7 separate regions of the Homo sapiens genome follow, and all the other regions are linked to region 6. The links are contacts of gene promoters, found by promoter capture Hi-C in blood cells and fetal thymus (Javierre and others, 2016). All regions are on one chromosome and are shown on one strand. Each heading gives the region's core, a stretch centred on a gene start or on the middle of the fragment in contact. The rest is flanking DNA. Distances are from core to core; before and after follow the strand shown. Region 1 has its middle 38 kb from the start of RUSC2. Region 2 overlaps RUSC2 (RUN and SH3 domain containing 2). Region 3 holds the start of RUSC2 (RUN and SH3 domain containing 2). Region 4 has its middle 55 kb from the start of RUSC2. Region 5 overlaps RUSC2 (RUN and SH3 domain containing 2). Region 6 holds the start of UNC13B (unc-13 homolog B). Region 7 holds the start of TESK1 (testis associated actin remodelling kinase 1).

Region 1 (3,728 bases), core at 527-3,026, 290 kb before region 6:
GTGACATATCTCAGTTTCTCCATGATTGGTCCCTGGTGCCTTATTTAGTTTGTTTGGTGAGGTCATGTTTTCCTGAATGGTCTTGATGCTTATGGATGTTTGTTGGTGTCTGGGCATTGAAGAGTTAGTTATTAATTGTTTGTATAGTCTTTGCAGCCTGGGCTTCTTTTTACCTATCTTTCTTGGGAAGGCTTTACAGGTATGTGAAAGGACTTGGGTGTTGTGATCTAAGCCATATCTGCATTAGAGGGCACCCAGAGCCCAATAATGCTGCAGTTCTTGCAGACTCATAGAAGTATCACCTTGGTGGTCTTGAATAAATCTGGAAGAATTCTCTGGATTACCAGGCAGAAACTCTTGTTCTCTTTCCTTTCTCCCTAACAGATTTAGTCTATCTCTGTGCCAAGCCACCTAGAGCTGTGTGTGGGGTGACACAAGCAACTCTGAGGCTACCACCACTGGGACTGTGCTGAGTCACACCTGAAGTCAGCACAGCACTGGGTCTCATCCAAGGCCCGCTGTGACCACTACCTGGCAACTGCCTATGTTCACTTCAAGCCCCAGGGTTCCACAATCAGCAGATGGTGAAGCCAGCCAGGCTTATGTCCTTTCCTTTAGTGCAGCAAATTTCCTCAGCCCCTGGGGTGTCCGGAGATGCAGCCTGGGAGCCAGGGACTGAAGTCAAAAACCTTAGAAGTCTACCTGGTACTGTATTCTACTATGGCTGAGCTGACCCTTAAACCATAAGACAAAGTCCTTCCCACTCTTCCCTCCCATTTCCACAGGCAAAGGAGCCAGTGCCCATGGCCACCATCAAAGACCTATAGAGGGTACTGCCAGGCTACCACCAATGTTCACTTAAGGCCCAAGGGCTTAATCAGCTTGTGTTGAATACTGTCAGTCATGGGACTCACCCTTCAGGGAAGTGGGCTCCCATCTGGCTCAAGGCAGGTCCAGAAATGCCATCCAAGAGCCAAGGCTGGAATCAGGGGCACCAAGGACCCACGTGATGTTCTACCCCACTGTGGCTGAGTTGGTACCTAAGCTGTAAGACAAAGTCCTTTTTACCTTTCCCTCTGTTTTTCTCAAACAGAAGTCTCTCACCATAGCCACCACGGCTGGGAATGTGCTGGGTCTCACCTGAAGCCAGCACGTCTAGATGCTGCCACTCTACAGTCTCACCTAAGGCTCACAATGTACTACCTGGGTATCGTTGCTGGTTCTTTAGGGCCCAAGGGCTCTTTAGTCAGCAGGTGATGAACCTGCCAGGACTGGGTCCTTCCTTTGAAGGCAGCAGGTTTCCTTCTGGTCCAGGGTGTATCTAGATATGCTGTCTGGGAGCTAGGGCCTAGAATGGGGGCCTCGTGACTCTGTCCACTGCCCTATGGTACTGTGGCTGACCTGGTCTCCAATTTGCAAGACAAAGGCCTCTTTACTCTTCCATCTCCTCATGCAGAAGAAAGGAGTCACTTTTGTTACTGCAAGCTGTGCTGCCTGGGGTTGTGGGAGGGGTAGCATTAGCACTCCCTTCTCTGCTCTGGCTGGTGTTTCACTAGGTTGTGTGCACCCACCCCGACCCCCTATGTCCACTGGCTCTGAGCTCAGTACAGCACTAGGGCTTGCCTAGGAATGGCAGTCTTTGTGGCCTAGACTGCTTTCAAGCTTGTTTAGGACCCCAGAGCACTTTAGCCCAAGGTGGTGAGGCTTGACGAAACTGAAGTTCTGACTGCTGGGATGGGCGATTCCCTTCTGGCTAGGGTTGGTCTAAATGCTCCCTCTATGGGTGGGTGTCAGCAGAGTTCAGCTTGGTTTTGCTTTCCACTATGACAGAACAGCACTGAGTTCAATGCAGGGTTCCACAATTGCTGTGCTCTCCCTCCCCAAAGCTTACAAGTTCTCTGCACCATGCATGGCCACCAGGAGATGGGGGAATGGTGGCATCAGCAATTCAAGATTGTCTTCAATGCTTCTTTTGGTGATATGATGTTAAAACCAGGTATTGTGATTGTTCGACTCATTTTTGTTTCTTATGAAGGTACTTTTATATGTGGATAGTTGTTAAATTTGGTGTTTTTGTGGGAGTGTGTGTGGGGGGGGTGATTAATAAAGACTTCTATTCAGCCATCTTGTTCCACCTGTGTTTTTGTGTTTCGTTGTTGTTTTTTATAGAGATGGGGTCTCACTGTTTCCCAGGCTGCTCTCAAACTTCCAGGCTTGAACAATCCTCCTGCCTCGGCCTCCCAACCTGCTGGGATTACAGGTGTGTGCCATCACACCCATTTGAAGACATCCTGTTTTGAAGACAAGCCTAGGCTAAATGACCTAGCTTACTGTCTAATGATGTATGTTGCTAATGTTGTCAAAAGCATATTTGCCCATGTTACCTTCCTTAATTCTTGACCATGATTGTCTTCTTCATTAAGAAACTAGGAAATGGAACTTTGATCAACTGCTGAAAACTACTTACTCCATAATAGAAAGAGAAGTATAATGAACGAATACTAGATTCTGAGCTGAATGAACCTTCCTAATTTTCTAAAACCCCTTTTGCTAGATCCAAAGGATTTTGAAAAGGATCTGGGATGTTTCCCATAATAAAGAAAAAAGGCAGTTTATAATTCAGATATTAATGATAAGAGTGTACAAAGAAAAGGTTTTTTTTTGAGTTTTCAGAGTCTAAATAATAGAGTAAAAATAAACATGAAAAGTTATGAGATCAAGTGTAGGCATTACAGGAACTGCTCAGCTATGCAAAGAAGCTGTTTAAGAGAGGAAATTAATCTGTCTATAACTAATAAGAATAAAGGCAGCTTATATCAGACAGCATAGAAATAATTTATTAACTAGTCTTCAATTTAAACATCTATTATCAAAGCTGATTATTATATATTGCAGTGCTTTTCAAATTTCACTTCTTAATAGAACCCCCTTCTATTTTTACAACTGAAATTTCATAAAATAGATAAACATGAAGCTGTTCTTTTTAAAGCAAGAACTTCAAAATGAGGAGGATAGAATAAAATCCACTTGATCTTCCCTATTCCCACTGCACCAGACCTTAAGACTCCTCTAAGAAAAGAGTTTGAAAATCATCAGTTCAAACAAGGTGTTCTATTAGTCTAAGTAAGGTTTTATTAAAGTGGTCATGAGTAAAACTGATTATGAGAAAATAAAAATATGTCTTAATTTCTAAACTGGGTCCTTGATCCATTCTTGTACCACTAATCAAAGCATGATATCTTTTTAAACACTTTGTGACTATTCTTCCTAACAGGCGTAAGCTAGACTCTCTTGTAATTTGTCTGTTCTTTTCTGCCTCAGATCTTAATCTCTGGGATCCTAAGACTGCTTGAGACTTTTTTTTTCTGGTTTTCCTTTTTATTTAATCAAAGACTGGTGAATAAACATAAATACAGCACAATTACTTCAGATCATTCTTCATATCGTATACACACAAACCCATGAACATAATCTGAAAGAAACCTGTAGACAGCAATGAAATGCATACAGCTTTTTCTTCCCTCGCTCAAAAAAAAGTTTAAACACACAAACTTAGAATCTCATCAGCACACACTCTCGTGACAAATGATTCAGACATAAATAGTGGGTGCAAAGAAACTATATGCTAACATATGAATAACCTTTGTTAATGAAAAAACAGAAGCAGCCATAATGATTAAGATACATTCAGTTACCGATAACTAGTTGTGCCCCAAAGGGCATTATCA
Region 2 (3,617 bases), core at 218-2,717, 370 kb before region 6:
CATCTGTACATCTCCATTATCCAGTATATAAGAATATCATTTTAATTTTGTATTTCCCATAAAACCTAGCATACTGCTTGGCATATAGAAGGTGTCTTATGCTTGGCATATGGAAGTCTTGTTGAACAAGAATAATCTAAAAAGAGATGCTTGGCCGGGCACGGTGGCTCATGCCTGTAATCCCAGCACTTTGAGAGGCCGAGGCGGGCAGATCACGAGGTCAGGAGATTGAGACCATCCTGGCTAACACAGTGAAACTCCGTCTCTACTAAAAATACAAAAAAAATTAGCCGGGCGTGGTGGTGGACGCCTGGAGTCCCAGCTACTCAGCAAGCTGAGGCAGGAGAATGGCGTGAACCCAGGAGGCAGAGCTTGCAGTGAGCCAAGATGGCGCCACTGCACTCCAGCCTGGGCTACAGAGCAAGAGACTCCGTCTCAAAAAAAAAAAAAAAAAAAAGAGAAGCTCCTTGTGTGTAAATCAGAATAAGTGGTGGGTAGACTTGACTCAATAGGCTTGAAAGAGAAGACTGTTTTCCATGTGAAAAAAAAAAAAATCTATCAAAAAGAAGCTTAGGCGGCCGGGAGCGGTGGCTAATGCCTGTAATCCTAGCACTTTGGGGGGCCGAAGCGGGCAGATCACCTGAGGTCAGGAGTTCAAGACCAGCCTGGCCAACATGGTGAAACCTTGTCTCTACTAAAAATACAAAAATTAGCGGGGTGTGGTGGTGGGCACCTGTAACCCCAGCTATTCGGGAGGCTGAGGCAGGAGAATCACTTGAACTCAGGAGGTGGAGGTTTCAGTGAGCCGAGATTGCACCATTGCACTCCAGACTGAGCAACAGGAGTGACACTCCATATCTAAAAAAAAGAAGCTTAGGCAACAAAGAAGTAATTCTTCATAACCTAGGGTTAGGCAACACATTCTTAGACATGATATCAAAAATACAAGTGACAAAAGAAAAAAACAGAAAAACTTTGACTTCCTGCTGGCAAAATGAAAAAATAAAAAAAAAAACATAAACTGACTTCATAAAAATTTAAAACTTTTGTTCTTCAAAGGACACAATCAAGATAGTCAAAAGAAAACCCACAGAATGTGAGAAAATTTGCAGATCATATATCTGATAAGGGATTTCTATCCAGAATATATTTAAAAACACTTACAACTCAGTAATAAAAAGACAATCCAATTTTTAAATGGGCAAAGGGGGCCAGGCATGGTGGCTCACACCTGTAATCCCAGAGCTTTGGGAGGCCAAGGCAGGCAGATCACTTCAGGTCAGGAGTTCGAGACCAGCCTGGCCAACATGGCAAAACCTGTCTCTACCAAAAAAATACAAAAATTAGCTGGGTGTGATGGTGCACACCTGTAATCCCAGCTACTCGGGAGGCTAAGGCACAAGAGGTGCTTGAACCTGGGAGGCAGAGGTTGCAGTGAGCTGAGATCGCACCCCTGCACTCCAGCCTGGGTGACAGAGTGAGAACCTGTCTCAAAAAAATAAATAAGTAAATAAATAAAAACGAGCAAAGGATTGTGTGTGTGTGTGTGTGTGTGTGTGTGTGTGTGTGTGTATTATTTGTAGAGATGGGGGTCTCACTCTGTTGCCCAGGCTGGTCCAAAACTCCTGAGCTCAAGTGATCCTCCTGCTTCGGCTTCCCAAAGTGCTGGGATTACAGGCATGAGCCACCATGCCTGGCTGGGCAAAGGATTTGAATAAACATTTCCCCAAAGAAGACACACAAATGGTCAACAAGTACTTATATAAACAAATGCTTAACATCATTAATCATTAGGCAGTACAAATCAAAACTAAAGTGAGATACTACTTGACCCCACTAGAATGGCTAAAATAAAAAAAGGCAGGCAATCACACATGTTGACAATGATGTGTAGAAATTGGAACCCTCACACATTGCTGAGGGCACTGTAAAATGGTGCAACCACTTTGGAAAAGAGTTCTGGCAGTTTCTCAAAAAGTTAAAGAGTTACTATTTGACCCCAGCAATTCTGCTTCTAGGTATATACCTACGAGAAACAAAAAACATCCACACAGAAGCTTGTATATGAGTATTCCTAGTAGCATTATTCATGATAGTCAAAAACTAGGAGCAACCAAAATGTTCATCAACAGAAGAAGGGATAAATAAAAGGTGGTACACACAATGAATTATTATTGAGCAATAAAAGGGAATGAAGTCCTGATAAATGCTCCAACATGGATGAACCTTGAAAACATGCTAGGTGAAAGAAGAAACACAGAAGGTCACATATTGTTTCATTCCATTTACATGATATGTCCAGACAAGGCAAATCTATAGAGACAAAAAGTAGATCAGTGGCTGCCAGAGGCTGGAGAGGCAGAGAGATGGGGAGTGCCTGCTAATGGGTGTGGGGTTTCTTTTGGGAATGATGAAATGTTCCAAAATTAGACTACAGTCATAGTTGCACAACTGTGAATATACTAAAACAATTGAATTGTATACTTTAAATGGCAAAATGTATGGTATGTCAATTATATTTCAATAAAGCTGTTAAAAACAGTGGCAGTTGCTGTAGGAGCTTGAGTGGTGTTGCTCAGCTCCACAGAGACTGAAGTCTTTGAGAACCCCATAACTGGGGGTATGGGTGAGAGGTGGAATATCAGGGTACCAGAAAGCAGAGGCTATCACTGCATGTCAATCCAAGGACGTCAGATAGTCCTCTCTTTCTTTTTTCAACACCAAATTCTTCTTTTTTTTTTTTTTGAGACAGAGTCTCGCTCTGTCACCCAGGCTGGAGTGCAGTGGCACGATCTCGGCTCACTGCAACCTCCGCCTCCTGGGTTCAAGCGATTCTCGTGCCTCAGCCTCTCGAGTAGCTGGGATTACAGGCATGCGCCACTATGCTTGGCTAATTTTTGTATTTTTTAGTAGAGATGGGGTTTCGCCATGTTGCCCAGGCTGGTCTCGAACTCCTGAGCTTAAGTGATCTGCTCGCCTAGGCCTCCCAAAGTGCTAGGATTACAGGCGTGAGCCACCACACCCAGCCTCGACACCAAAATTCCTTAACAAATGGACTCTTAAAATTCTCTCTCCACTCTCTCCTTCATTGTTTCTTAACCACCAGAAATCTTTTTTCTAATAACATTTGAAGTGTGTGAAGCAGTTATCATTTTTAACTTATAATATTGGAATCATCCAACACTATCAGCAGTCATCCTTTCCTATTCAACTCCTCTTTTCCCTTTGGCTTTTTTTTTTGAGACATTTAAGACAGTTTCGCTCTGTCACCCAGGCTGGAATGCAGTGGCTGATCTTGGCTCACTGTAACCTCCACCTCCCAGGTTAAAGTGATTCTCGTTCCTCAGCCTCCCAAGTAGCTGGGATTACAGGTGCATGCCACCACACCCAGCTATATTTTTGTGGTTTTGGTAGAGATGGGGTTTCACCATGTTGGCCAGGCTGGTCTTGAACTCCTGAGCTCAAGTGATCTGCCCACCTCGGCCTTGCAAAGTGCTGAGATTATAGGCATGTGCCATCAAACCCAACCCCTTTTGTCTTCTATAAACCAATCCTCCTAGTTCTACTTCTTAGATAATTCTTTCTTCGTTGTTTAATAAAACAATACCTGGCCCATA
Region 3 (3,626 bases), core at 1,011-3,510, 330 kb before region 6:
GCAGGGTGCATAGTCATTGTGTATGAGTAACAGGAAGAAAAGGGTGAGTTATTATCCTAAATTTGCAGATAAGCCCAGAGAGAAAAATAGAACACATAAGCCCTCCCATGAACTTGCCAGATTTAGCAAGTAAAAATACAGGACTCCCTGTTGTTTATTTGAAATTCAAATTTAACTGGGCACTCTGCGTTTTATCTGGCAACACTGAAGTATTGGAGGTGAGGAGAAAAATAACCCAGGGTGTTCTGGGGTAACTGAGGTCTTAACAGGAAGCCTAGACAGGAAAAAGTAGAAAAGGCCATTAAAAAGATACTGTTAAAAAAAAATTGTATTGCTTAATCCATCCAGATCAGGAGCCCCTCCCCACACTGGGTTTCTATGATCCAAGGCTTTATTTTGAGACAGAGCATTGCTCTGTCACCCAGGCTGGAGTGCAGTGGCATGATCTCAGCTCACTGCAACATCTGCCTCCCAGGTTCAAGGGGTTCTCCTGCCTCAGCCTCCTGAGTTGCTGGGACTTCAGCCTCCTGAGTTGCTGGGACTACATGTGCACACCACCATGCCCGGTAATTTTTGTATTTTTAGTAGAGATGGGGTTTCACCATGTTGGCCAGGCTGATCTTGAACTTCTGACCTCTAGTGATCCGCCCACCTGGGCCTCCCAAAGTGCCGGGATTACAGGCTGAGCCACTGTGCCTGGCCTGATCCAAGACTTTATAAAGACATGTAAGAGGGTGGGAGACAGAAAGCGGAAAAGGATACATCAAAACTAGCAATGGATGAATGAGAACATGTCCAGCCTCCAGTTAAGGCAACTGTGGCTTCAAAAAGGAATCTTAAATACCAGCACAGAAATCAGAGGGATCCTAACCTGGCTCAAAACAGAAGAGAAACAGTGGCTGGCCATACAGCAGGACGGGCATAACTAACAGAATACCAGGTATACTGTTTGGATCTGCTCTTCCTTCCATTAAGCCATCCACCACTGCTTAATATCTAAGGAGCCGGCTAAGAAAATCCAGTCACTACTTTTATTTGCTAATACTTTGAGCCCCAGTTACAATAATGCCACTACTAATTAGGTAACTACTTTCTACCTTATCAACTCCTACAGCTTTCCAGCCATTGTTTCATCCCTCAGCGATACCACCTGCTTCCGCGTGGAACCCAAACCCCCAGGAAACTAAATCTGCTCAGGTCACCCACCTAGGAATAAATAAAAACAGGTTTCAGGCCCTTTGTCCTTTGTAAATTCCGCCTTTTTTTTTTTTTTAAGGCCTGTGTTCTTTATCACGGACACTGTTCACATAGTGGTAATCCTTGCCTGACTCAGATCTACTTGTTCCTGCGTTTCATTCCTCCGCTGCTCAATTACTTGTTCAAAACGCAAAGGACAACTGGTAGTGAAGACCCTCCACCAGCAACACTACCATGTGCCAGGCACCGTGCTGGGGACCGGGGATACAAAGATGAGTAGTGTACCGTCCTTGCCCCCAGGACAGTTCCCCGTGTCCGCAGGGCCGGCCTGGAGGGCCACAGCCAACTGTGGGCAACAGGATCACCGTGCCCTTCGCGGCAAGTGAGTGCAGTAGTAGGGGACGGTTACTGCCAAGCCAAAGGTTTTCTCCAGGTAAAACTGGATGACAGAGAGACAGAGACTGAAGCAACGCCGGCGCCGGGCGGATAATAAAGGGAGGCAGGGGCTAAAAGGGTGGAGGGAGCAGAGGACCCGGCCGGGAACTGGCAGTAGGGAGGCCCCCGCTGCAGTCGCCGGCCTGGGTGCCGGGCGGCCACGCTTCCCCAAAGCCGTCACAGGGACTTGGGGTACCAAGGTGACTACTGGGCGCGAGTCGTTTTGTGGGGGGAGGGTGTCCCCAAGGGGGCAGTTTGAGGAGACGGTTGGGGATGCATCTGGGGTGGCGCCCAAAGGGACGGTGGGTGCTGGGTGTTTGAAGGTCCGGTGGACGCAGAGCTGAAGGGTCAGGAGAAGGCCAAGGGTCAGAAGGGCTGGGGACGAGGTCTGCCCAGGGGGTCGGGGCGGACGCAGAGGGCGGGTGCAGCCGAGGGGGAAGGGCTGAAGGGAAGGGCAGGCGCTGAAGGCACATAGGTGGGAAGACAGGCCCTCCCCTAAGGGAGACCTTGGAACGCGGGGCAGTGGGTCTGTGGGACCCTGCCCGCCTCCGGAGAGGCGTTCCTACCTCGTTTCTCGCCTCAGCCTCGTCCTTCCGCGCCGGCGGCGGCGGCGGCGGCGGCGTGTCTCGCCCTCCAGGGGTCGCGTTGCAGGCTAGAGGCGCCGGCGGCCCCTCCCTCCGGGCGGGTTGGAAAGGCCGGCCCCTGTCGGCGTGGCGCGATGGTCCGATCTGGGTTGCCCTCAGGCCGCCCCTCCGGGCGGCGCGTTGGTTCGGTCCGCCCGGCCTAAGGTGCTCGCCCCCTCCCCGGCTCCCGCAGCGATGGGCGCAGCCGAGTCACGCGCAGAGCTTTCCCGCTAAGGGAGCGGAGAGGCTTCCGCCGTGGCCCAATCTTCTGCGGCCCGCGCCCGCCCCCGCGGGGTGGTGCCTGGCGACGCGCGGCTCCCGGGTGCTGGAACCCAGGGAAACCTTCCGCGGGCCTCCAGGGCCGGTGGGTGTGAGTCCCAGCTTCGCCTGAGGCGGCGGTTCTCAACGCTGGCTTCCCAGTAGAACCTAGTGTGGAAACTAACCAAACAACAGAAGGAGGGCTGACCTCACACTGGACCGACTCAGAACCACTGGGGTGGAGTGGGGTGGGGTGAGGTGGGGTTGGCCTCCAGTGCATAGCCAGGGTTCGGAACCCCTGATGAAACGTAGAACCCATGCGCCCCCTGCCCTTCAGGGCCGGATGTGTGGGGGACATGGAAGATGCCTGTGTGTGACTCCTGCTGTTTACAGCCAGAGGGGGATGGGGCAGGCAGTCCTGCAAATGTTATGGGAAACCCACTGTATTAGTCCGTTCTGACACTGCTATGAAGAAATACTATGAAGGAAAGAGGTCTGACTCACAGTTCCGCATTGTTGGCGAGGCCTCAGGAAGCTTATAATCATGGCAAAAGGCAAAGAAGTAGCCATCCTTTTCGCAGGGTGGCAGGACAGAGTGAGTGCAGGCAAGGGAAATGCCAGACGCTTATAAAATCATCAGATCTTGTGGGACTCACTCACTGTCACGAGAAGGGCGCAGGGGAAACCAGCCCCATCATCCAATTACCTCCACCTGTTCCCGCCCTTGACACAGGGGGATTATGGGAATTACAATTCAAGATGAGATTTTGGGTGGGGACACAGCCAAACTGTTACAGGTAGTTAGGCATGAGCGGGGCAGGAGAGGGTTCTCCCCTGCTACCCACTAGGGATGTTGGGTGATGGTTCTGAGGCAGGAGAATAGGGACTGGAGGCAGGGAACCTAAGACTGGTTCATGCCAACTTCCTGGAACTAAATTGAAAGGAAAACCCTAACTTTCCACACCTAAGTAACAAACCCCCCACCCAACTTTTCTGCCCAGCAGATGGGAAATTGGCTATCTGCAACCAATTAGACTGACTGCAGCCGAGTCTAACTTTGCATAGAAGTATAACTTTGTAACTTCACCCTAGCCTCTGATTGGTTGCTTCTTG
Region 4 (3,513 bases), core at 231-2,730, 270 kb before region 6:
CCTGGGTGATTAAATAATCTGTACAAAAAATCCCCATGACACAGGCTTACCTATGTAACAAACCTGCACATCCTGCACATGTGCCCCTGAACTTAAATACAAGTTTGTTTGTTTTGTTTTTTTTAAAAGAAGAACCTACCTATTTCCTTAGGGATGAGAAGCTGGTCAAATAGCTTAGCACTTAGGAGTTTAGAGATCCAAGCCAAAACTAAGATTTCCTTGGTGTTCTCTCCATGATTTTCCAAATAATAATCAATCAGACAGTATAGCATTTCTCAAGGCTTGCTCTTTTCACAGCCTTATGCTGGACTATACTAGTGGAGGCTGAAAAATAATTAGACAGGATCCCTTCTGGAGAAGCTCATGGTCTGTCTTGAACGAAGTTCTAGTAAAATGATCTCTACAGGCCCTTCTCATCATGAGAGTATGTAATTCTAACATGGAAATAGCTTTCTTTGATCATAAGATACTTTGAATTTCTCAGTGTTTAAGTCCAGATGGCTGTGATACTTGGACCCAAAGATCTTCTGAGAGGTGGCCTTACTGATGTAGCTAGCCTTCACTGTTGATTTTCCATTTGATTTTATAGCCATTTAATATATTTCAGGTTTCTACTCACGTAGGTAGCATTCTGCCTCAAGATAGAAGTACAGGTATTTATTTATTAACTTGGCAACTAGAGCGTTTCATTTTGCTCTTAAATGTAAAACCAGAAGCAATATCCTAATAACATCTCCTTAACTATGAAGTTCCTCAGAGTTTAGTCCTTTTGGCAGAGGTGATAAAATTTAAACATGATAAGAGGTGGTTAATTTTGGTTTGGTTATTTTTTTCTTTGGGCAGTGATATGGGACTGAAGGTTAATTGGGAAAATAGAAGAGAATAAAAGGCCAAGGATATAATGAGAATCAGTAGTTAGGAGTTAGGAAGATGACAAGGAGTCACAGTGGAAGAAGTTAGAGAAATAGGAAAATGAGCAATGCTCAGGGCCAGGGAAATGAAATGGTGTTAAATATATCAGAATCAGTCAGATCTGTTCATTCACTCATTCAATATTCAATATATATTTATTGAATGTTGGCTGTGTGCACAACATTGTGATAGAAACTGTATCACAAATATACTGTGTATACAGAGATAAATGAGATACCCTTTTTCCAAGGGCTAATAGTTTTTTGGAGAAACAGAACTAACATTTTCAGAACCATACTTAACTCCTACGACCACCATGCAAGGTGAACATTATTATGCCCATTTTACAGATGAAAGAACTGAAGATCAGAGAAGTTAACAAACTTGCCTAAGACATTAAGGTTAGTAAAGGCTGAGCTATATTCAAACTCAGATCTGTCTGATGCCCAAACCTAGATTTACTGTCCCCACTGCTTGTTACGTAGGTCTAGAAGATAGAGAAGAGAAAAACCTGCTTTCATGGTCATATCTTGGATACTATTATTATCCAGAACTATTTGATATGGTTTGGCTCTGTGTCCCCCACCCAAATACCATGTTGAATTGTAACTCCCAGTGTTGGGGAGGGACCTGGTAGGAGGTGACTGAATCATGGAGGCGGCTTTCCCTCATGCTATTCTTGTGTTCTCACAAGATCTGATGATTTAAAAGTATAGGATCCTCCTCACTCTCTCTCTCTTTCCTGCCACCACGTGAAAAAGGTGCTTGCTTCCCCTTTGCCTTCTGCCAGGATTGTAAGTTTCCTGCGGCGTCCCAGTCATGCTTCCAGTTATGCCTGAGGAACTGTGAGTCAATTAAACCTCTTTTCTTCATAAATTACCCAGTCTCAGGTAGTTATTTATAGCAGTGTGAGATTGGACTAATATACCACTCTCACTCAGAAATCATAAACTAATATCCCACAGAGACCGCAGACATATATTTTTATATAATTATAGCTATGTATATGTATACATAGCTACACATGCATGGAATTATATTATGCTACACATGCATGGAATTATATTATGTATAAAACCATTGCTTGTGATCATAGAAGATTGAAAACAACCCAAATGTCCATTTAAAAGGAACTGGTTAAATAAAATATGTTAAATCTGCAGAGGAAATACTATATATTATAGCTGAAAAAGGAAAAAAAAGAAAAAAACTATTATGAAATTATGATGATGAAAACATCTCCAGGATATACTGTTAAGGTTCAGAATAGTGTAAAAATAGGAAAATAAGACTATATATTTGTATTTGCTTTATTTGCACAAAGAAACACTAATCTGATTAATACACACAAGAAAACTAACAGTGGTTCCCTCAGGGGAGCAGATATGGACAAGGATGGAGTATTGGAGCATGCCTTTTCAATATATATCTTTTCATGAATTACTTAGTTATAGACACATAAATAAGTGAAAAATGAACAATTCAATAGGAAGTGGGCAAAGATCATTAATAGGTATTTTCCAGAAAAAGAAATACAAAAGGCTAATTAACATGTATGTCATTTTCATCTAAGAGCTGGCAAAGATGACAAAGATTGATAATAATGAGTTTGACAGGAATGTGGAGAAACGGGCAGTCTCTAAGTAGAAACATAAATGGATATAATTCTTTTGGGGGGCAATCTGGCCTCTGATAATTTTTAATTTTTAGTGTGTTTTTCTTTTGAAACAGACAATTTACTTTTAGGAAACTTTCATAAGATACAGTCACACAAATGTGCCAAAATATATGTATAGTGGTGTTCATTCAGCACCATTTAGCATAGCAAAACACTGGAGACATTTAAATGTTCATCAATAGAAGACTGACTAAATAAATTCAGGTTTATCAATATAATGGAAAACAATGTCGCTATTAAATAAATGAGGGATATCTGTATGTGTTGTCAGATACATGTCTAAGTGAAAAAAGTAGAACTATGCTTTCATTTGTGCAAGAAAAACTACAGTATTTATTTTCTGGGAGTTATATATAAACCTGAAATCTAAGACATTCTCTCCCTAGCTTATGTCACTAGATTAATTTTGGCTTCTGAGCCTTCATTGCATTGTATAGGAGCTTGAAAGAAAGTGTAATAGAATCTGTGTTATAGGATCCACAACTACAAAGAATTTCACGCTCCCCCAACAAAGAAGAATATTATAGGAGAATACTGACCCCCTTCTGAAACAGCCAGAGGGATGACACTCACCGGATATCCAAAAATACTGTTGAATTCTTTGTTGTTGGCTTGCAGATATCTCTCATGTTCTGAAAAAAGATAGGATAAACGATGAGATGGATGCCCCTGTGTATATCAGACTGGGATGTTGGCTGCTAGTGAAGACTTCACTAGATCCCCACACTTTCTTGCTGAAGATGTCTATTTAAGCATGGGATTTTGTCTCTTTAATCAAAAGAATCAAGAAATATAATAAAAATAAAAATGCTCAAGTATTCAAGCTTTCTGGAGGCAACAGGACAAGTAACTCCTGAGGAGTTCTCCACCATCAATGCTTCTAGTACTTCCTAGATCATGTCTCCACAGACAACAAGATGGTC
Region 5 (3,408 bases), core at 19-2,518, 390 kb before region 6:
TTGGCCTGGAAAGAAGAGAAAAATCAATCCTGAGCAACTCTCAGTGCAGGAGTTCCAGGCCAGTTCAGTGCCTCGTACCGTCTGAGACACGTTCCTTTGGGACTGACCCCTTCTCTAGCCCTTTCCAGCCATGGCAGAGCCTGCCCCGGGTGTACTGGGGACCCTGCTCACACACCATTCAGCCGGCAGTTCAGATGGCTGGCAGCACTGAGGGAGCCAGGGAACTCAAAGATAGGGTTTCTTCGGGCCAGCCGAGCTTCTTGTGATCTTCGGTCTAGGCTCCCTGACAAACCAGGTGGCCCTAGTGGGTTCTTCCTCCTGTATTCCCGCCACTTGAGGGCTTGAGGGGATAGGTGGTTGGCTGGAAGCAGAACAGATTAGCAGAAAGACAAGAGTTGGCAGGAGACAGCGAGACAGAGTTTCACATCCACCCAGTGGGCCCATATGAAACACTAGATTATCTGTGGATATTATCTACAGATGCTGAGGGAGGGATGCAGACATCCTAACCTCTGGCCCCAGGTGAGAGTGTAAGCAACCACTCAAAGGGGAGGTGGTGGAAGTGCTTGCGTGAGGTGGCGGGTTGGGTAGGGAGATGCTGGAGCTCGTACCATTACTGGGCCTGGTGGCCATGCTGCCCTCACCACCTCCCCGGGCCAGGCTCTCTGCTCGGCTGAGGCCAGATCGCCAGGAGCCCAGAGGCGGCAAGCTTCCTGTTCCATGGAGCCGGTACTCAGTCAAGGTCAGTATCTTCTGATCCTCCTTCTGCGGCTGCTGGGAGGTGGCAGGCCGGACAGCAGAAGGACAGGAGTGGCTCCATGGGGGCAGGCTTTCTGTGGCTGTGGGCTGCTCTGGGGGAGGGGAGCACGAAGTGGAGGCAGAAGAGTCAGTGCTGGGCCCAAAGGGGCCAACACTCCGGATGGGGGAGTAGCTGCCCAGGGGCGATGGCCGAGAGGTCTCTGGCTCAGACCCAGCTTTCCTGGCACCTCTGCCAGTGGCTCGGGGAGTGGATGCCTGCGGTTCCCCTGAGGGAGCTGGGACTGAGACTTGAGCAGCAGGGGCAGCCAGTGGGGCAGGCTGCTGTGTACGGCTGCAGCCTGAGAGGCTGTAGAGCTGGGAAAGGCTGTGGAGGGCCCGGGCCTTGGCCAGCTGCTTGGGGAAGTGGTGCTGGAACACGAAGGGCTGGATGGGCAGTGTGGTTGGCCTCTGTTCCTTGCTGTAGCGAAGGACTGGTCGGCTCTCGGTGCCACCCCCTGTAGCAAAGGGATGGAGAAGAAATCAGTAGACAGACACTGAAACCCATATGAGAGAAAACCCAGAAGCAGAGATGGGAGAGGGGAGAGGGGCAGGGACCTGGCTGGCAGGAATTGAATGGGGTAGAAGTTCGTGGAATGGGACACTGCTCCCCTCTTTTGTAAAACGCTTCCTATTGCTTTTATGGTGCTGGACTGTCTTGTACCTCTCTGCTGTTCAGTCCCTCTTCATTTTCTTGACTCCAAAGGTGAGTGTATCTTAAGGCTCAACTCTTGCATCTCACCTTACACTTTATTTCTTGAGAAGTTTTGAGTTCAGACTTCTACGGGATGACTCCCAAACCCACAGCTTTAGCCTGGACCTTCCTCTTCATCTCCAGATCATTCTGCTTTATAGTTCTGCTTTCACTTAAAATGTGCTATAACCGCTTATCCATCACCTTTCTCCTTTTTTCCGATGACTTCCATTTCTATCAATGGCAGAACCATTTTCTTTGTTTCTAAGTCTTGGAGTCACAGTCACACACATTTTCAGTGATGAAAATGTTTCAGATGTTACTGACTTCAAGCTTTTGCTCATTATCCCATCTCCAATCATGCCAGCACATTTCATTCCTGAGCATATCGAACCATAGTAAGATATTTCTTTACTTGCAGCCTACCTGTTATCTGTATCTACCCCCACTCCCACTCTTTTCACGATCCTGGCATTGGAACCTCAGAGTCCACATTTGCTCCCCCTGAACGGAGGTATGTTCCCCAAGGCTGGGCCTCTCCTGTTCTTTCAGGCAGTCTTCAGGTCAATGTCCTTCAAAACGTGGTGCTCAGAACTAAACACAAAACTCCAGGACACTGGAGTGGGACAGTGGATGGACTGCACTTCCAACAAAACACTGTAGATCTCCGAATAAACGTAAGATGGCGCTATAAGCACGCACCCGGCCTAAAGCCCTGGTGAAAGCTCACCAGCAGTGGGGCTCAGTAGCTCTGCGAGGCGGGAATTAGTTCTCTTACTTGACATATTAGGAAATGTGAAATGTAGACAGATTAAAGCACTTGCTCAAGGTCAAACAACTAGGAAGTGGCAGAGCTAGAATTCTGCCTAACCCAGAGTCTGATTTCAGAGCCACTGTTCTTTTTACCACATTGTACTACATGTGAAATTGTATCAGGCCAGGTTTTCCTATCCCTCATCTTATTTACATCAAAGAGTCAGAGGGGATGGGGACCACAATCCCATTAGGGAGGTGCTTCTGAATCACTCCCAGGGGACACTTTCAAGCTCCACCCTCCTGCTATACCCAGTCACTGCTTACACAGACTCTGCATTCTCCCTGGCCCACTGTGCTCCAGCCACACTTCCCCGTCCTTAAACACACCAGATGCATGAACATCTCCGGGCCTTTTGCACCTGCTTTTCTTTCTGTCTGAATCTTCTCACCATTCAGGCATCAGCTCAAATATCACCCCCTCAATAAGACCTTCTCTGACTACGTCAGCCCCTCTGGCAAGTTGCTCTCTATCCCATTACCCTGTTTCATTTTCTTTTCAGCATTGTTGAACTTTCCAGCAATTAAAAGTTGTCCTTTTAATGTGTTTATTGTCCATTACTGCTCCTAAGAGCTCCAGAAAAGTGGGGATTTTATATTGTTCACTGCTGGATCCATAATGCCTGGAACAGAGGCTGGCACACAGTATGGAGTGAAAAACCATCTGTTAAATGAGGGAATCTCCACGGTCACTCTTGATTCAAGCCAGTCTCACTACAACCAGAAGCTTCTTACATACACCAACTAGCTTCTGAGATACAAATTTTATCTCCCAGAATAAAGTCTAATCTTCTCAGTGAGCTAGTTGCCCACACCTGCTACGAGCTAGGCTGCTCTCCCTTCAGACTTCCACACCTGCCCCCACTGACCCTACTCTTCCCAGTCCATCCCTGTCATGAAGCCCACTGCTTTTCCCATCAGGAATGTGTCCTTCCTTTCCGCCTATTTAAGTATCAGTTTTCAAGGCTGAGCTGACTCTGGCTATCGGATTAGGTCATCCCAACCACAGCATTATTATACCCCCTATACAAAGTATGTCTGAATTAGACTGCTTATTCCTACCCTTTTAAAACTCCTCTCTGCTAAGTTCCCAGGATACAGACTGA
Region 6 (3,690 bases), core at 386-2,885:
GCCGTAGAGAATTAAACTGTCCAAGAGACACAGCAAAGTCCAACCTCTCCCAAATCCTGCTACTCAGCAGCAGGGATCTAAAGGAATAAATAGATTCCCAGCTGCTGAGAGAAAATGTCTTACTAAAAGCAAAGCAAAATTCTCATTAATGAAAAATCAACCATGAAAGAAGAAAAACTGTATATCTCATAATCCCGGGAAATGGCCAAATCCATTTTGGTTAATGCAGATTCAACAAAATAGTGGAAGAGAACAGAGCAAAGCAGTTTCATCTGCCAGTAGCTGGGGGAAACATCGTTATTGGAGAAATCACAAACAACAACAATGCTTCTAATCTGTAGAGCCAAAAGAAATATGAACTCTCCAGTAAAAGATATCAGGTAAAGGCTCTAGTTGATAAATGCTCTCTCATTCATAATCAAGACACATCAGATATGATAGGCTGTAACCTGAATTTCCCGAGATCAAATTCAATGGCTAATCCAAACCCTGTGTTTTCCTGATCAGATAATCTCTCTGAAGTCACAGTACTTGCATTCATTCAAAACCAGCATTAAGCTTCTACTACGTCAGACACCAGGAATACAAAAACTAATAAGAAACAGTCTCTACCCACATAGAACTTAGTTCGCGTACCATGCCTCATCTTAAACCCCAAAGCTCTTGCTTTAAGATATCTTCTTAGATGGGTCAAGTGTCCTCAGGGGAAAAGCAATAATGGCCCTTCACCTTGAGTTACTGTGAGGCAAGCTAAAATAAAAATAAAAATAAATCATACCTCTTATCCTCAAAAGCAGTCACCACATCCTCCCAAGTGGAACAGAAGAATAATCTTAGCCTATACTACCGGTTAGTGTTCAGGGAAGTGGCAGGGGACAAGACAAGCAATAGAAGGGATGTGACAGCTGTACCACTAACGCATTCAAAGTGTGATAAAAAGAACCTGCTACTAAGCATACTGTAGCGTTACGGTGCGAGGAGGAGGAAAAGAATGAGAGGCTGCCCACCATTCACAGGCACCAACCATCCGCGGTCTTCTAACTCGTCCACTCTCACTAGAGAACCCCAGTCACTGTTTAATAGGATCTGAGCCTGCAGTCCAACAACATTGTCACATGGCTACCAGAATGGAGAGCTAATCGTCCCTTGCAGGAGCTTGGGGGAAAACAAGAAAGTGGAAAGAACTCAAGTGATTGTTAAGTGATTGCCAAAATAATAGACCCCCAAAGCACGGACGGGATGTAAAGTTTGGGTGAGACGGTCACCGGACGTCCACTGGAAGGGTGCGGGGACCTCTACGCCGACACCCCGCCTCCCCGCCTCAGTCCGCGCACTCACCGCGCACGCAGAGCAGTGACATGGCCGAGGATCGGGCAAGCCTCTGCCGCGCCCCAGCCGCGCCGGACCGCTCCCTCTTTCCTCTCAGCAGGTGCCGCGACTGCTCTCGTTACCGGCCCCACGGGTCTGGCAGCTCCTCATGGTCCCGGTCGCAGGTAGCGTCCCGCCGCTGCCTCGGACCCGCCCCAAATCTCACCGTCTGAGCGAACTCCGGGTAGCGGTGAGTACCGGCCGGCAGGCTGGGGACTGGGCGCGGCACAGCGACGCCATCGCTGGGAGGTAGGAGCTGCCGGGACTCCCTCCCGTCATTCCACCCGGGATCCGCGCGAGCGCCTGGGCGGAGCCAACCCGTGGTGCCCCGCCCCCCAGCCAATTAACTCACGCCCAGTCCACCGACCCCGCCCCCCCCCGCGAGCACGTAGGAGGCGGGGTCCCCTTCCTCCTTTCTTTCTTGCGATCCTGAAGGAAGCTCCGCCCACTAATCAGGCTTACTGCAGGGAGCAAGGGGTTGACCCTCAGTTGTGTGACGCGAGAATGGAAGCCCTCTGTTCCTCCTGCATGAGCGGGGCTTCCACCCAAGAACAGATTCTTTTCATTGAAGGATTTCCACTGGACTTTCTTAGAGTCTAGCGGTCATAGCTGACAGCCTGTAATTTTAAGTTAACGAAGTCGCACCGCACAGCAAAGTTAAGTTTTGTTTAGCAACTAGGGCAAAAGACAAAACTGAGTGGGCATAAAGTATGTCTGGAGACCTCAGTTCTTATCTAGACCGTTTTTTATGCTCATCATTGTATCTCCAATGTCTGGAATAGTGCCTAGTGTATGGTAATCAGTCCGTAAATATTTACTGAATGAAGGATGGTAACCACGGAGGGATTGTGAGTGGAGATACCTCTGATCTTTGACAAATCTCCTATCCATGCTTGGTACCAACATGAGCTAACTCCATGGCTCAAACCAACAGGACAATTTGCTAAGGTCTAGGAGCACCCCCTCCAGAGAATCCCTGATCTCCCAAAATTTGGTCGAGATCTAAAGTTCATTTTGTTGTACAACTCCCTCTATTATTATTATTATTATTATTATTATTATTATTATTTTGGAGTTTTACTTGCTTCCAACAAGGAAGGCAAGTTTTCCTGCTTCCATGACGAGGGAAGGCAGGTAACTCTTTTATGGAGTTTGAGCTCACTTCCAACAGGGAAGATGAGGGGTTTTTTTCCTACTTCTGGGATGGTAGACAGCCGTTTTCAGCCTGAGACGCACCCCTAGGTAAGTAGCTGAATAGGGATTTTTGTCTTGGCTAAAGTTAACAACCAGCTGGTCTTAATTTCTGCTTACCATTAGAGTGCTCAGTGATCATATTGTTGGGTTTTTTTTTATTTTGTTTGTCTTTTTCCCATTGACCAACTCTACTTCACTTGGTCAAATCCAAGTGAGAATTCCAAATTATGGGTAACAAGGCCTATCTAATTTGAGTAAAATTCCTCACAGCTGCAAAAGAAAAAACAAACAGAAAACAAAAAACCATGTATTTGGTTTCTGTGTTTGCTTCCTGGTCTTAAAAATTAAACTGTTCTTAGGCCGGGCGCGGTGGCTCACACCTGTAATCCTAGCACTTTGGGAGGCCGAGGCGGGCGGATCACGAGGTCAGGAGTTCAAGGCCAGCCTGGCCAACATAGTGAAACCCTGTCTCTACTGAAAATACAAAAAAAATTAGCCGGGCATGGTGGCGGGTGCCTGTAATCCCAGCTACTCGGGAGGCTGAGGCAGGAGAATTGCTTGAACCAGGAGGCGCAGGTTGCAGTGAGTGGAGATCGAGCCATTGCACTCCAGCCTGAGCTACAGTGTGAGACTCTGTCTCAAATTAAAAAAAAAAAAAAAAAAAATTCAATTGTTCTTTTGTTTACTTTTCTTCCACCCTATACCTCCTTCACCCTTTGCCATCTGCATTACCAAAAAATCGAGAGAAGGCTTCTAATGACTTGAACCTCTTTAAAGAATTTAGGCCGGGCGCCATGGTTCACGCCTGTAATCCCAGCACTTTGGGAGGCCGAGGTGGGCGGATCACGAGGTCAGGAGTTCGAGACTCAGCCTCGCCAACATGATGAAACCCTGTCTCGACTAAAGATACAAAAAAAGTTAGCCAGGCATGGTGGCACGTGCCTGTAATCCCAGCTACTCAGGAGGCAGAGGCAGGAGAATCACTTGAACCTGGGAGGCGGAGGTTGCAGTGAGCTGAGATCGTGCCATTGCACTCCAGCCTGGGTGACAGGGCAAGACTCTATCTCAAAAAAAAAAAAAGAATTTAGAACAAAGGTGCCACTCACCCCCTTTTGGGGTGTTCTCTTG
Region 7 (3,380 bases), core at 219-2,718, 440 kb before region 6:
GCAGGTCGGGCGGGTCGCCGGAGTCTGGACCCTCTTCCCCGCACTCCCGGCCCCCTAGTTTCAGCCTCTGGTTGAAGGCTCGGTCCCGCCCCTCTGCCCTCTCGGCCGGTCCTACCTTGTAGACCTCAGAGAAGAAGCCGGCCCCGATCTTCTCCGCGCAGTGAAAATCGTCCACACGCGCCAGGCTAGACACGGCGCTGCGGAGAGCCCGGTAGGAGGAGGGGCGGCCCCGGCCCGGGCCTCCGCCCGTGCCCCCCGGCCCCGGGGGCCCCTCCCCCGGCACCTCTCCAGGCCCGGGCCCAGGGCCCCGCAGTGGGGGCCGTTCCCCGGCCATGGCCGGGCCCCCAGCCCGGGCCTGCCTCACATGGCAGGGTCCCCAGGGCCCGGGCAGGCCGCGCTTGCCATGGGCGCGGGCCCAGCCCGATCCCGGGCGCCCGGACTCCGGCTCCCGCCCTGAGAATGGAAGATCCGCCGAAGATCCTGGACCCGCCCCCGCCGCGCCGGCTGGCTGGGCCCGGGTGGACGCCGCGCCGCTCCGCTCCGCGCAGGGCCTGGGCTTGGGCCTGGACCGGGCGGTGGCGGTGACGGTGGCGGCAGCGCTCCGGGGCGCCGGCGGGCTGGCTTGCCGCGGGCGGAGGCGGGCGGGCGGGCGGGCGGCGGCTGCTCCGCTTAGCCGCCGGGGATCAGGCTCCGCGGCCTGCCGGGGGCGGGGCTGGGCCGGGCCTCCGCTTAACTCCTTCCAGCCCGGCCTCCCGGCAGCGGCCACGCCCCCTCAGGTGCGCACCCCCGCCTCCCCGCTTTCCGGCCGCGATGCCCTGGGCCGCCCGGGTCAAATAAGCTCCGGCCTGAGCTTGAATAACGGGAGGGAATTAAGGGCTGATGGTGCGCATGCGAAGCTTAGCTGCCCAGGGAGTCCCCTCTCCTCCCTGGGTTACTGTCCGTTGAGGGTCGGGCTCAGAAACCTGCCGGATTCCTGGGCTCCAGGGACCAACGGGGCAGAAAGGTAGGCCCCTCAGGCCCAGCCGCAATCAGAGGTAGCCTAGCAACCTGTCCACCTTCCTGGCCTGCGCCCCGGCCCAGCCTGCCCATTTCCCAGGTCTCTTCGACTCCGACACCTTGAACCTCTGGCCTCCCTAACACCTTCTACCTTCACGGGAGGTTGTGATACCCCGGGGCTATAGGAAGCCTTTGGCCGGCCCATACCCAGCTTAGCCCCGACTCCTCCTCACTTCATCCTGCCGCCTCCCAATAAAGAAGAGAGTCCAGGTCCTCCGCCCTGTGACCACCCAGCCGGGACCTCCCTCTTACTACTTTGCCCAAAAGACTCTAAGAGAGAAGCCTCCACCTGCAGGGAAGCCCGTCCTTCCGCAAGATCCCACCCCCCTCAAAGAACGCTGTCCCTCGGAGACCCCTCCCTTCCTCAGTGAGACACCTCCCTTTCGGGGGCACTTTTCCCCAGTGTGGCACTGCCACCGTCAGTGTGTCAGAACCCCTCAGTGCTGCACCCCCTTGCTCTGTGTTCCTCCCACGCAGTGAGACCCCACCTCCGAGGAAATCCACTAGTCATTGTGACCCCTCCTCTCAAGGTGACTCCTCCCCTCAGTGTGACCCAGCCCTCCTCAGTGTGAGGGTTCCGCCCTCCACGTAGGAACACGGTCTGCCCCCTAAGGCCGGAGGAGGGGCTGCAACTGGCCTCTTTAAGTCGGCGCGGTGCCTGGGTGCGCACGCAGTCTCAGGACTCCGTGCACTCGCCGTACCAGACGCTTCCGGTTCTGCCGCTGGTTCCTCCTCCGGCCTCGGCGAAATAGCCAATCATCGCTAGGGTTGGGTGGTGACACGCGATCCCGGCGGTCCACTCCGGGGCAAACGGTTTAAAAGGGCGTCGTTGAGCCGCCTGCCACCTAGCGGCGGAACGGTGGGCGGAGGGAGAGAAAGCTGCCGTCTCGAGTGCGGAGGCAGGCTGAGAGCTCCTCGAGGAAGCGAGGCTGAGTCCTGCAGGAATTCTCAAGTACTGTATTGATATTTCTGTAGTAAGCTTAAAAGAGAATTAATACAAGCACAGTCCGTATCGCGTGGGGTTACCGTCTTCCAATGGAGTCTGGTTACACGTTTATGAGACTTGGAGCCAAGAAATACTACTCGCTTGTCGAGGGCTACTGAGAAAAGAATAAAGACGGTCATAAATGATACATGATGCCTTAGAGTCAAGAGAAGGCCAGATGCTGTCTTGGTGCGCTGTACAAGGGAAGGTATTGCACAAGTTTGGAGCGAGAGGAATGGGAGACATTCGCAATCCTTCCACAGCCGGTGGAGGCAGGCCAACCTCACAGAATTGCACGGGGCACGTGCATCCTGTTCTTTTTTCTGGAGGCGTTTGGTCTTCAGCACACGCTCATTCATCACATTAATGTTAACATCTACAACTAATTTGTGAATTTGCTTTTTATTGTATGACATCTGTAAACACTAGGAATTTATGCCTCATTTTGTTTAATATCATAGATCTTTTAACCGACACTGGGTTCTGGCCCTTTATCACGTTTGAGAATTACTGTAGTAGTTGGTGATGGTAATGCCAAGCCAAAGAGCCAGGTGCCTATTTTTTGTAAGATGATTGCGGTGGTTGTATGGAGGCCGGGAGACTGATTAGGAAGGAGGCTGTGACTGTGGTTCAATCAGGAAAGGATGAGACCAGCCTGGCCAACGTAGTGAAACCCCGTCTCTACTAAAAATACAAAAAAATTAGCCTGATGTGGCGAGCGCCTGTAATTCCAGCTACTCTGGAATCTGAGGCAGGTGAATCGCTTGAACCCGGGAGGCGGAGGTTGCAGTGAGCCAAGATCGCGCCATTACACTCCTGTCTAGGCGACAAGAGCGGGACTCTGTCTCAAAAAAACCTTTTGTTGTTGTTTGTATGGTGGAAAATGTCTTAACACACACACACAGAATAGAAAAATGAATGTTTATTTACCTTGGATTAGTAAGACCATTTTGTTGGAAACCCATAGTGCAAAATTGGCTTTCCTTTGCCTCAGTTGTACTGTTGCCATATTTGACCTGGCCCAGGTGAAAGTACCTACTTTCATTTACCCTTCTATGTCAGTGATTCTCCAATGAGCAATTCATGGCCAATCTTGTTTCATCTATACCCGTGCCCTCTTCCCCACTCCATATTTGTGTATATTTCTGACATATCATTTCATCCTGTAAATGTTTCAGTACGTTATCTCTAAATGATAAGGATTCTTCTTTAAAACCAAATCACAGTATTGTCACACCAAAAAAAAACAATAGTTCCTTCATGTCATCAAGCATCCAGTTGTTTACATTTCCCTCACTGTCTTACGTTTGATTTTTAAAAATTGTTTATTTGAATCAAA

The links. The method cuts DNA at HindIII sites, captures the fragments that hold promoters and counts their contacts. A CHiCAGO score of 5 or more calls a contact.
Region 1: a fragment that was not itself captured here is called in contact with the fragment with the promoter of UNC13B in region 6 in 3 of 17 cell types (M2 macrophages, M0 macrophages and M1 macrophages); the score reaches 6.7 in M2 macrophages.
Region 2: a fragment that was not itself captured here is called in contact with the fragment with the promoter of UNC13B in region 6 in 1 of 17 cell types (M2 macrophages); the score reaches 7.4 in M2 macrophages.
Region 3: the fragment with the promoter of RUSC2 here is called in contact with the fragment with the promoter of UNC13B in region 6 in 2 of 17 cell types (megakaryocytes and endothelial precursors); the score reaches 5.5 in megakaryocytes.
Region 4: a contact is called between a fragment that was not itself captured here and the fragment with the promoter of UNC13B in region 6, in 1 of 17 cell types (M2 macrophages). The highest score is 5.4, in M2 macrophages.
Region 5: a fragment that was not itself captured here is called in contact with the fragment with the promoter of UNC13B in region 6 in 3 of 17 cell types (monocytes, endothelial precursors and megakaryocytes); the score reaches 7.2 in monocytes.
Region 7: a fragment that was not itself captured here is called in contact with the fragment with the promoter of UNC13B in region 6 in 2 of 17 cell types (endothelial precursors and erythroblasts); the score reaches 6.1 in endothelial precursors.

Annotation. Positions count from the first base shown.
Region 1 is chr9:35,450,744-35,454,471 of GRCh38, reverse strand. It overlaps the pseudogene ATP8B5P and the pseudogene ZFAND6P1. Among named protein-coding and RNA genes, the nearest start is that of RUSC2, 38 kb to the left of the region's middle. The HindIII fragment of the contact is 224 bases long and covers 1,665-1,888 here.
Region 2 is chr9:35,532,375-35,535,991 of GRCh38, reverse strand. The region is part of intron 1 of RUSC2 (RUN and SH3 domain containing 2); the gene reads right to left. Among named protein-coding and RNA genes, the nearest start is that of CIMIP2B, 30 kb to the left of the region's middle. The HindIII fragment of the contact is 1,185 bases long and covers 875-2,059 here.
Region 3 is chr9:35,488,745-35,492,370 of GRCh38, reverse strand. RUSC2 (RUN and SH3 domain containing 2) reads right to left here and starts at 2,260. Exons shown (of 12, transcript NM_014806.5): 1 at 2,199-2,260. LOC105376026 (a long non-coding RNA gene) reads left to right here and starts at 744. Exons shown (of 2, transcript XR_929580.4): 1 at 744-940; 2 at 1,115-1,252. RefSeq lists a silencer at 2,292-2,591. The HindIII fragment of the contact is 5,552 bases long and covers 1-3,050 here.
Region 4 is chr9:35,433,416-35,436,928 of GRCh38, reverse strand. It overlaps the pseudogene ATP8B5P. Among named protein-coding and RNA genes, the nearest start is that of RUSC2, 55 kb to the left of the region's middle. The HindIII fragment of the contact is 3,873 bases long and covers 1-3,416 here.
Region 5 is chr9:35,552,905-35,556,312 of GRCh38, reverse strand. It overlaps RUSC2 (RUN and SH3 domain containing 2), which reads right to left. Exons shown (of 12, transcript NM_014806.5): 3 at 612-1,253; 4 at 176-361; 5 at 1-5. Among named protein-coding and RNA genes, the nearest start is that of CIMIP2B, 9.3 kb to the left of the region's middle. The HindIII fragment of the contact is 1,113 bases long and covers 712-1,824 here.
Region 6 is chr9:35,159,954-35,163,643 of GRCh38, reverse strand. It overlaps UNC13B (unc-13 homolog B), which reads right to left and starts at 1,635. Exons shown (of 40, transcript NM_001371189.2): 1 at 1,339-1,635. The coding sequence starts at 1,360. RefSeq lists a silencer at 1,640-1,769. The HindIII fragment of the contact is 6,795 bases long and covers 561-3,690 here.
Region 7 is chr9:35,602,574-35,605,953 of GRCh38, reverse strand. TESK1 (testis associated actin remodelling kinase 1) reads right to left here and starts at 692. Exons shown (of 10, transcript NM_006285.3): 1 at 116-692. The coding sequence starts at 334. RefSeq lists silencers at 1-86, 1-162, 97-266, 287-586, 617-866 and an enhancer at 1,347-1,456. The HindIII fragment of the contact is 1,139 bases long and covers 899-2,037 here.